Linked DNA regions of Homo sapiens: region 2 is linked to region 1. Evidence: promoter capture Hi-C in human tissues and cell types (Jung and others, 2019). All regions are on one chromosome and are shown on one strand. Each heading gives the region's core, a stretch centred on a gene start or on the middle of the fragment in contact. The rest is flanking DNA. Distances are from core to core; before and after follow the strand shown.

The links. Contacts are between HindIII fragments. The study calls those that stand out against the background at their distance.
Region 2: a fragment that was not itself captured here is called in contact with the fragment with the promoter of DAOA in region 1 in 2 of the 25 tissues and cell types used here (dorsolateral prefrontal cortex and mesenchymal stem cells).

The regions. Positions count from the first base shown.
Region 1 is chr13:105,464,369-105,469,917 of GRCh38, forward strand. It overlaps DAOA (D-amino acid oxidase activator), which reads left to right and starts at 1,677. Exons shown (of 6, transcript NM_172370.5): 1 at 1,677-1,692; 2 at 1,848-1,964; 3 at 2,685-2,773. The coding sequence starts at 1,921. DAOA-AS1 (DAOA antisense RNA 1) reads right to left here. Exons shown (of 7, transcript NR_040247.1): 5 at 1,819-2,052. The HindIII fragment of the contact is 13,308 bases long and covers 1-3,098 here.
Region 2 is chr13:106,092,457-106,098,141 of GRCh38, forward strand. No RefSeq gene overlaps it. Among named protein-coding and RNA genes, the nearest start is that of LINC00460, 280 kb to the right of the region's middle. The HindIII fragment of the contact is 3,527 bases long and covers 2,550-5,685 here.

The DNA.
Region 1 (5,549 bases), core at 427-2,926:
TTTTTACAGTCTGCATCACCACATGGAATGTGAGATCCCTGAGAAAGGAGACTTTGTTTGTTTTGTTCCCCACAGTGCCTCAGTGTCTGAAATAGCACCTGGTAAATCATAGGGACTTCTGAAATACTTTCTGAATGGATAAATGAGTGGTAGGAAAAGTGTGAACATGGTAGATAAAAGAGAAGTCACCACTAGAACACCAAGTTCCTGACATACAGTTTCAAGGTCCAGCAACATAGTTGCTACGAACTAGCTGCCTTTAAAGTTCTCTAGATCAACTATATAGATTAGCAAGTCTTTTAACTAAGCATTAAGCAGAGTACTGCTCTGAGATTTAGCACCTCAGTCTTTTAGGTCCCTAAAGACTCCGGATTGGTTCCAGAGGTGGACTGTCAAATAGGAGGACTTTCTGCAGTAATGGAAATGGTCTATGTCAGTGCTGTCCAACATGGTAGCCAAGTGTGTGTGGTTATTGAGTACTTGAAATATGGCTAGTGGCACTGAGGAACTAAAGTTTTAATTTTAATTAGTTTAAGTAGCCTTAGGTTGCTAGGGGTTACCATATTGGATATTGCAGTTCTAGAGTTATTCTTCTCTCCTCATATTCAAAATTATCTTATGATGCTATCATAATTGAAAGATTAGCCAGGGACCCTATCATGGCTATGGCAGTCATGTCCTGTGAAAAATTCCATTAATGACCTCCACGTTTTATGATGTGTAGAGCAAAATCTCAGTCTCCCTGAGTAAGGCCTGCTCCATGTGGACACCTGGCTTTCTCCCTTGTCTACCTCCCTCAGTGGAGAGTCCACCTGCTGGTAGTGCACTCCTTAGGTGCCTGTCTCTGGCTGTCCTGTGCCACCTGCACAGAGTCATGCATGAGCTCCACTGTGGGAAGTCTCTAGAGATGAGCTGAGCTTACCCTACACCAACTGAAAGAGTCTATCTAAGTCCTGAAGATCACAAGTCATCCTCATATTCCCATGAATGTGAATGGAAGTTGGGCCTGCTCAGAGAATCATCAGGGCTCTTTATTGTGGCCTGGAGCCAACTGCCAAGGAGTGCCTAGGAACACACTCAGTAAGAGTGTTGCCCTCAGGCCAGATCAGACTTGAACCTGCAGAGAAATCCCCTAGGTATGTCAGCAATTGCTCATTTGGATGCTATAAACTTGAAGTTGTGAAAAATATAAAGACTTACATTATCCAGTCTCTCCTGGCAAAATATGTAGGTTTAATCATTCCTGAATTTTCCTTAGTTCACACAGATATACAAATATATATCCTAAAAATTGGCATTGGTAGGCGTGTCAAGTTATCATTTTAAAAACATAGAAACCTGAACAAGATGTATCACTCCAGTCTAGAATGTCTATATGCAGAGTATCCACAAAAAACCAAACTTCAACAGTCTTTCATGTCTATATTTCTTCAACATTCTTTGTCTTCAACATTCTTTCATGTCTAGAATGTCTATATGCAGAGTATCCACAAAAGACCCAAACTTCTTTCATTTAAAGAACCAAACTTCTTTAAATAAAAATGACTCACAATAATTTAATATTTTACCATTTACAAAGAGATTAACTACAACAATATTGATCTTGAGTTAATTTCCCACGAATAACATTTTCATTTCTTAAAATTTGCTGAATGGAAAGCCAGAAAGTAGAGTGAAGCAAGTAATGTGTGTGTGAGTAGTCATTGGATACATACATAACAGTGAGCAAGTTTATCAGCTCCTGCATGGCAGTGTTCTGATGATCTTTTGCTGCAAAAGAGCTACACCCCAAATTAGTGGCTTAAAGTAAAAGCTTACTAGTGTATATGATGATTCTGTTGGTCCAGGATTTGGAAAGGGCATGGCAGGAGGTCTCATCTCTGCTTCACAATGCCGATGATTTAGCTGGGAGGACCCAAAATGCTGGAAAAGCTGATGGGTGCTGATTCTCTCCAGCTTTTCAGGTAGGTAGCTTGGGGTTTTTTACAGCATGGCGGCCTCAGTGCAATGTGACATTTGCATGGCAGCACAGAGCTCCCAGGGTGAATGTTCCTGGAGACAGGAAGTGGAACATGTCAGGGTTGGAAGCCTGAGCCCAGTATATGGTTCAGCCTTACTTTCTCCCATATTCTGTCAGTCAAAGGAGAACCTAGCCAAGGATCACTCATGTTAATGAGGAGGAGACATAGGCCCTCACCTATCCCTGGGAGGAGGATCAAAGAGTTTGAATCTTTAATCCACAGCAGGCAGACAGCTTTCCATTGTTATAAACCACCTCCCCCTCACTCCATCTGCCTGTGCTAATTGTTTGCTCACAGGAATTTGTTTAGCACTGTGTAGAACTGGGATAACTTTGTGCTTATTTTGCAGTTAAAAGGGAGAGGCGCTAGTTTGGAGATTTTTAAAAAGCAAAGGTTTGAGAGCCAGTAAGACCTGGAGTGAACTCTCCTGTCAGCTATTTACCAACTGTATGACTGAGCAATTTATAAAAAAAAAATGCAAACCTCAATATCTTCATCTATAAAAATAAAAAAATAAGACGTATTTGGCTGAATAGTTAAGATTAAAAATATGAAAGTGCTAAACCATACATGTTATATGCTCCATTGATGTTGCTTATTCTTTCTCTCTTCTGCAGGGTATAAAGGAATCTGAACACGACTGATATTTTCTTTAATTTTTAGATCCAGATATACATTGGGTAAAATCTACTTCATAGGTTTTCAAAGGAGCATTCTTCTGAGCAAATCTGAAAACTCTCTAAACTCTATTGGTATGTTACTCTTTATCTTTATATGAATTTAAATTCTTCTAGAAGTTAGATAAAACTGTGGTAAAGCTACATAATACTTTTGACATATTTTCAAGCGTAGACAAACTTCAATTAATTTGTAAGATACAGGAAGAAAATTTTTCCAGTTAAAATGTACCTCTTGGTTTCTGGAGTGTTAGCAACCATTCACACTTACAGTTCAAACAGTGCAACCTTGTAAAACATATATAACTTATGAAGAGATCGATATCTCTTTTTATAAAGCAAACAAGTAAATTTTTCCCTCAATCCATGATTTATTTTTGTGAAGTGGGAATTTAAGGCAGTAGTTCTGCTTTCAAGTGAAAACCTGGATCAACTTTTAAATATCTATAGGCGCAAACCCAAGCTAGGTCTCACACAGTGCCTCACTTAATAATCTGTCAACGTTTAATTCTTTTTCTTTTTTTTTTTTTTTTCTGGAGACAGGGTCTCACTATGTTGCCCAGGCTGGAGTGCAGCAGCGCCTCGGCCTCCCCAAGTGCTAGGATTACAGGTGTCAGCCACAACACCCAGCCCATTAATGTTTAATCCCCTAGAAGGTGATCCTTTTTTTTTTTTTTTTTTCAAAGAGACAAATTGCAGCTCCTTCTCTGGGCTTTTCTACACTATAGCAGATAACTTAAAATCTGACATGCCAAGATATAGCCTTGTCTTAGTTTTCTATCACTGCTATAACAAATAAGCACAAATTTAGTGGTGAAAAAAACAAGCACATTCATTATTTCATAGTTCTCATCAGGCTGACAGACATCTTACCTGGCTAAAAGCAAGGAATGGGCAGGGCTGCATGCCTTCTGGAGGCTCCAGGGCTGAGTCCATTCTCTTGCCTGCCCCAGCTTCTGGAGGCCTCCTGCATGCCTTGGCTCGTGGCCTGCCCTCTGTCTTTAGAGTCAGCAATGTTGCTTCTCTGACCACTCTTCTTCCAGCATCCCCCTCTCTAAGCACAGCAGGGAGACCTTCACTGATTATAAAGATGCCTGTGACTACCTTGGACCCACCAGGATAACCGAGGTCACTCTCCACCTCCCGGTCGTTAACATTAATTACATCTATGAAGTCCCTTTGTTACACAAGATTCCACAGGTTTTCAGGATTAAGAACTGGACATTTTTGGGGGGTGGAGCAAAGAAGTTTCTGCCTACCACAGCCCTTGATAGCATAATTAAAACATTGATTTTCATAAGGTTTTCCTAAACTGAATTTTATTTTGCCTCAAAGGTGCAGATGGTCAGTCTTTGAGTGCCAAGTTTAGATGCTCATCTTACTTTTAATTTCTGACCAAGATTGATGATTACTTGAATATGTTGGCTACCCAAGTAATTTTATTTACTTTTATTAAAGAGGATAATTATATTTCAATTAATAGATTCTCTTTAACAACAATTAAAAAATTACAAATGTTAGCTGAGAGTGACAGATATGAAATGAATTTAAAAAGTCTAATCAATGCCTGGTGGAATAATTTGAGAAGCAAAATAATTAGAAACAATTTTCATTGAAAGGCATGCAGTATGTTAATTTCTTCCACTTAGCCTTCAACAAAGCTAAGAATGTTGGAAGGAAAACAAGCTTATTGTCTTCTAATGATGGCCATGCCTTGGAACACTATTCCCTTCAGAGATTTGTCTCTGGTTTGTGGAATCACAGTAAAATATTATGAAAATAATTGTGGGTAAACAGGGAGAAGCCAGACATGAAAAGAAGCGAGATCTTGGAGCATATATCTATTTGCGTGCTAGTCTTGTTAGCTGTAAATAGACATGAACATGAAATGTGGGAATAGCAGAATAATTTTTCCAAGTGCATATTTTTTATCAAATCAATCTTTACTTTAAAAATTAGTGTAAAATTAAGAAGACAGCAGACATCAGTATGTTTCAGCATGTATATAAGCAGAAGTAGACAAGGCATCTACATTTTCTACAGGTAGGAGAGAGTTATCATCTCATTAGATAGTTAAGTACCATACCATAGGGTTCAATAATATTCATACTAGGCAGAACACTAAATTCAAAGTAGCTGGAGGGCAGAATTTTCCTTATGTTCTCTTATCACCATCCACACTGTCTTAACCACCTAGGTGTGTACCGTTAGTTCCTGGCTGCATTTTCTCCTCTTCAACTTGCAAATTTTTCCTGTATTAAAACTAATTCTGCTCTGTCATATTTTATTTGGGCTTTATTTTCTAATAATGACAATGAGTGTAAAAGAAATTCACATTATCCAATCCTATTTTATTTCTTTCAGGTATTCACCAAATCCACAAAAATGTAAGGCCCAAAAATAATGTACCAGTGGTGAAAATTTTAAACATTTCTGACACATAGATGAAGGGGATATATATTTTATGAAGTAATGAGCTTATTATAGGGGACTGAGTTTGATACTTTCTCTGCCTTCACATCGTTGTGAGAGTTTACAGATTTTACAAACTCAAGGTTATAAACTACTTTCCAATTATCGTTTCCCTACTCTGAAATAATTAAAGTAAATTCAAATGGTCTTTTTGGTAGCATTCCTTCTTTCTGTCATAGCACTAATAAAAGCCCTAAATTTGTCAAGAAAAAGAAAATGGTATCAAGCTGAATTTTGTGATGTGTGGGGAACCAACTGAAGGATATTTTTCTAGCAATTGTCTAATTTACTTTCATCATATTTCCAAACTTTCCAAAGCAATATTTAATATTCTGACAGTTGTGTTTTCTCAGTCTCTATTGAATGCAAAGAGAATCAC
Region 2 (5,685 bases), core at 3,063-5,562, 630 kb after region 1:
CACCGTCTCGGCTCACTGCAACCTCTGCCTCTCAGGTTCAAGTGATTCGCCTGCTTCAGCCTCCTGAGTAGCTGGGATTACAGGCACCTGCCACCACACCCGCTGACTTTTGTATTTTTACTAGAGGCGGAGATTCACCATGTTAGCCAGACTGGTCTTGAACTCATGACTTCAGGTGATCTGCCCACCTCTGTCTCCCAAAGTGCTGGGATTACAGGCGTGAGCCACCACGCCCGGCCCACACCCCATGTTTTATCCTCCTTCTTCTTTCATTTCTGGTTCTTCCCTCTACCTTATTCTTTCACAGACATTGTCACATGACTGAATTCAACTTTTCTTTCAAAACCAAAAGCGAATTATGTCTTCTCCATCGAACTGCCTCTGAACCTCTTTTTGCTGCCTATATCTTAGCCTGCTGCGAAGTTACATAAAACTTTATGTAGCACTTTATGTGTACAAATGTGTGAGGCCAGGAGAGTGAGATCACCAGTAGAGGTATTCTTACCCGCCCTCCACCAGCAGACCGGGATTTGTGGCTAGCAGACCTACATGGAAATTTGGTGGCGTGCTGGTAAATGCTTAACAACCAGCTCTTCAGGGAAGAAAACAGCCTGATATGTAATGTTTGTCAATTTCTATAGTGTAAATACTGCTGTCATAGCCAATTCCAAGCAGCCAACTTGATGTCACTGAATGAGAAAATGCAAGTAAGAACACACCACTATGCAGCATTTTCATCATACAGATAAAATAACAGTAAATAACTTCAAAAGCAAACATAATCATAAAATGTAGTACAATAATTAGAAAGTAATGAATTCTGAGAAAGTTTAAAATCTTTTTTATTTTTAATTTATGGATTTTTTTGTAGAGACAGGGGTCTCTCTTTGTTCTGCAGGCTTCTCTCAAACTCCTGGGCTCAAGTTATTCACTCTCCTCGGTCTCTCAAAGTGCTGGGATTATAGTCAGTAGCAACTGCAACGAGGCTAAATTCTTTTTAAAATATAGTTTATACAAATATATATCATTTACATTATAAAAATAGCTGTGTTTATAAGCCAGCTAAAAAACTTCTTGGAAATTTAAAAATCTGTTCTTGTGAGCTAGTACTGAGCAGCTCCAGTTACAGAAACCCCTTTTCTACCCTGAGCAGCTTCTGCGTGATCTTGAAGGAGTGACTTTACTGCTGAAGCTTTAGTTTTCTCATCTGAAATATAGTTATACATTGTAAAGCTTTGGAAAGGATAAAGTATTTAAGAAAATTCCTCAGATATGGTTGGATCTAAAAAAAATGGTAATTCTCATTGTAGTAGTAGCTCCTTTATGTAGATCCCCCAGCCCTTAGCCTGTATTTTGTTTACAACAAGGATTGAATATATATATATATTTGCGGGGTATATTAAGTTGCACAAATTACAAATTTTATTTCTGGACATCTCTTCCTCTGTACCTAAGGGATGATAATAGCAGGAAAATAATTGTCACTAGGCATGAAGGGTGCCTTCTTTTTTATTTATTTTTATCTTATTTTATTTTATTTTATTTTATTTTATTTTTTGACACGCAGTCTTGCTCTGTTGCCCAGGATGGAGTGCAGTGGTGCAATCTCAGCTCACTGGAACCTCTGCCTCCTGGGTTCAAGTGATTCTCCTGCCTCAGCCTCCTGAGTAGTTGGGATTACAGGCACCCTCCACCAAGCCCGGCTGATTTTTGTGTTTTTAGTAGAGACAGGGTTTCACCATGTTGGCCAGGCTGGTCTGAAACTCCTGACCTCGTGATCCGCCAGCCCTGGCCTCCCAAAGTGCTGGGATTACAGGCGTGAGCCACTGCGCCCGGCCTGTTGCCTTTTTCAAAAAAACCATCAGTGCCCACAGTGGAGCACACAAATCTAATCTGTGCAACTACTGTGTTAAATTCAATGACATTTGTTTATGGAACCAATACAATGTTGGTTCAATGCCATGATAAGAGTTTTATTTTGAGACTGAATAAATACTTTATATTCAATTTTTTTTTTAATCTGTAGGATGCTTTGTGGCCTAGTCATCAAACACAAACATGAAGAAGTGTACTAAGTAGATGCCCTGTGTTAATGAAAACCAACTTGATATGATTTCTCTTTGCACTCAACAAAATTTGATGTGGTAACATATGTCCAATTTAAACAAGCTATTGTCTTGCCACGAAGTTGCTTATTGTTAGTTCAGTCACAATTTTCTTCTACTAGAGGCACAGAGATATACAATGAGTCTTGGCCCTTGACTTTTTGAAATAAGTCTCCACAACTTGGAAAAGTTCACAGGTTTTTCTTGTTCTTCATCTATTTGTATCCATTTTTTTCAGAGTGCTTACATATTTCCCTACGATCTTTCTTCATCAATTTTCCTATCTCTTTTCTCCTATCTCCAGTTTCTCCTCCGCTGCCTTTTTTTTTTTTTTTTTTAAGACAGATTCTCACTCTGTCACCCAGGCTGGAGTGCAGTGGCCCCGTCTCGGCTCACTGCAACCTCTGCCTCCTGTGTTCAAGCAATTCTCCTGCCTCAGCCTCCCGAGTAGTTGGGATTACAGGTGCACACCACCACACCCAGCTAATTTTTTTGTATTTTTAATAGAAACGGGGTTTCACCATGTTGGCCAGGCTGGTCTTGAACTCCTGACCTCAAATGGTTTGCCCGCCTCAGCCTCTCAATGTGCTGGGATTACAGGCATGAGCCACTGCGCCCGGCCTTGCTGACTTTTTCCTGTCAACCTAAGACAAGTTCAAAATCTCCTTTATCCTAGCCCTGAACGACACACACCTAATCTCACTGGTCTCTGTGTTACTGTTCTTCCCTTTACAACTAAAATTTTAAAAGACTTATTCACTCTCTTTACTTGCTGACTTCTTCATCATCGCTAAATTCCATGAAGTCTGTATTTTGGCTTGCAATTCTACTGGAACTTTTCCAGTAAAGTAAACCAATGCCTTCCGAATCATCTAACACACTGGCCAGCCTTCCCTTCTCACCCAGGTGAACCTCTGCAGTATTTGACACCCTCTGGCCTAGTCTCCTTCTTTTTTTAGTCATCTTTTAAAATTTTGTGCGTTCTATGACTCTACTATCACCAGTTTGCAAACAACTTCCCTGCCCATGTTGCAAGCCATATTGCAAGCCCTCATCTTCCCACACTCACGTTTCCAACTGTGGATGACACCTTTCCACAGGAATCCTAAAAGCATGCTCAAAATAGAACACAGCGCCTCCTCTCAAAAAAAAAAAAATTTACACATTAACTCTATTCCACCCTTTAATTAATGGCATCATGAACTCTCCAGGAAACTAAAGTTAAAAATTGGCAATGATCTTTAATTTACCTTTTTATTTTACACGCACATCCAATCATACATGGAATCTTGGCAAACCCCTCTAAGGAAGTCTGCCCCCTCTCTTTCTGCTCCGTGGATATACTCTCATAAAGCTCGCCATCTTGCCCCACTCGAGGACTTCAATGTAGTCTTCTGTATTATAGATTGTTCTAGTCTTTTCCTCCTCTGATGCATCTGACATACTGCTGTCAAAACCATGTTTCCAAACAAGACTCTGATCATATTATGTTAGACTCAGTTTCAGTGACTTCCGACCACATATGGAGTAAAGTACAAATGCCCAGCCCAGTACTCAAATATTTATCTGGCTTCTACCTATCCTTCCGCGATTGTTCTCCATTAGACTCCACTCCCTGGAAAGAAACACTTAGGTCCTCTGTAATCCTCCACTGCCTGTCCCAAAGACTGTGCTCTTCTCCTTCCACTTATAACAAATCTCTTTTGTCTGCAGTGCCTCTCCCTTTTTCATTCTTTCTCAGTTTGTCTATTGAAGAATAAGCTTAAACCCCAGCTTTTCCAGAAACCCTTCCAAATCTCGCGGTTGTAATCAATCTTCCCTTCTTTTCTCCCGAATGCTCCCATGACCATTTGAAGTGAATCTCTACCAATCTTTTTAAAAATGATATGTGTGTGTGAGAGGGCACACATGCTTATGTGTGTATATGTGTGAATATGTATATGTATATGTATACATCACACACATACACACACACATATATATATATACTTAGACTCCTTGAGAGCAGAGATCTGTGTCTTAACTTTGTTTTTTATCACGTACAGCACCACCAAAGGGTTTTTCTCAAGATGCCGTACTTAAGAGTTTGGTGGAGAATCTTGTTAAATGTCTGTGTCTACTGTGCCAATCCAGATTCACTTGTCCTTCTGAGACCTCAAGCGATTTGGAGCAATAAAACCTGTACTCTCTGTACTTTTCTTTGCAGGCTTAGTCACTTTTATGGTACCTATTTCCTGGTGACACATATTTACTTTGTGGTCAGATGTTTTACGATAAATTAGGTGCAAATTGGGACTCAGCTATCCAGGTTCCTGAAACATCTCAGGACACTTTCAGACAGTGCCCCTTGAAAATCTCATAAAGCTTACCCCTCACCACAGTCAAAGGCACATAAGTAAATCCACATAGGTTTACATGCAACTGCAGAAGGTTTGTAAACACTCTCTCCTCCCTGAAAATCTATTGATGGTGGCGGGGGACAGGAGTGTGGTCATTGGATCCTAGGTTAAAAGTCGTGGAACTGGGAGGATTTTTACAGTTACTAGAAATGTAAATGCAAACAAAATTTCTAACGTCACTTAACACTGGTAGAATGACTACAAAAATTTAAGAAGTTAGAGCCACTTAGAAAGTTCCTAAAATATCAGGGAGAGCATGTCTCACTCTTACATCAGAATTCTAGAAAATTCAGGAAGCAAATTTATTTTAAATACTTTTTGTTACAAGGCATATAACATGTTTGAACTAGTATGCTATTTCAGCTTTTAACACATTTTCTCAATTATCTGCTAGTATGTTAACTAAATAATTTCCAAATGCAGATTAAAAAGTATACTAGATCTGAAAAATTAGAATTAGAATCGTCCTTGAAGCATTTTACCTTTTTCAGAGCTAGCCTTTTGAATCAGAGGGATACACTTAAAAGAAGTTATAGCAACAGCAATAAAAACCGTTTGAAGATAATGTACTGTGATATAATTTAGTTATCACCAGCAAATTGTAAAGTAAAATTCTACTTAGAAATTAGATTATATTTCAGCAAAAACATAAGAATTCTGTCAGTCTCTTTTTTGGTTGTTTGTTTATAAATTTGTTCCTCAGTTTTTGTTTGTTGTAGGACCTCGAGAAAAATATGTTTTCAATTTCCTTATTCATTTATTTTTTTCATTTAATCATCCTTTCGACAATGCTTATGGTGAGCACACTCCGTTGACACAGCACAGTCGGCCCTCAGTATCTGTGGGTTCCACATCTGTGGCTTCAATCAACTTCAGATCTAAAATATTTGGGGAAAAAATGTGTCTGCACTGAACATGTACAGTTTTTTTTTTCTTGTCATTTTCCCCTAAGAAATAGAGTATAATATGCATTTACATTGTAGTTGGCATTATAAGTAACCTAGAGGCAATTTAAAGTAGATGGGTGGATGTACATAGGTTATATGCAAATACTCTGAGACCTTATATCAGGAACTTGGGCATTCTTGAATTTCGGTATCTGAGAGAAGTTGAACCAATACTTCATGAATACCGAGAGATGAATGTTCTTGCTCCTAGAAGGGCAAGATTGAGGAAGGTGA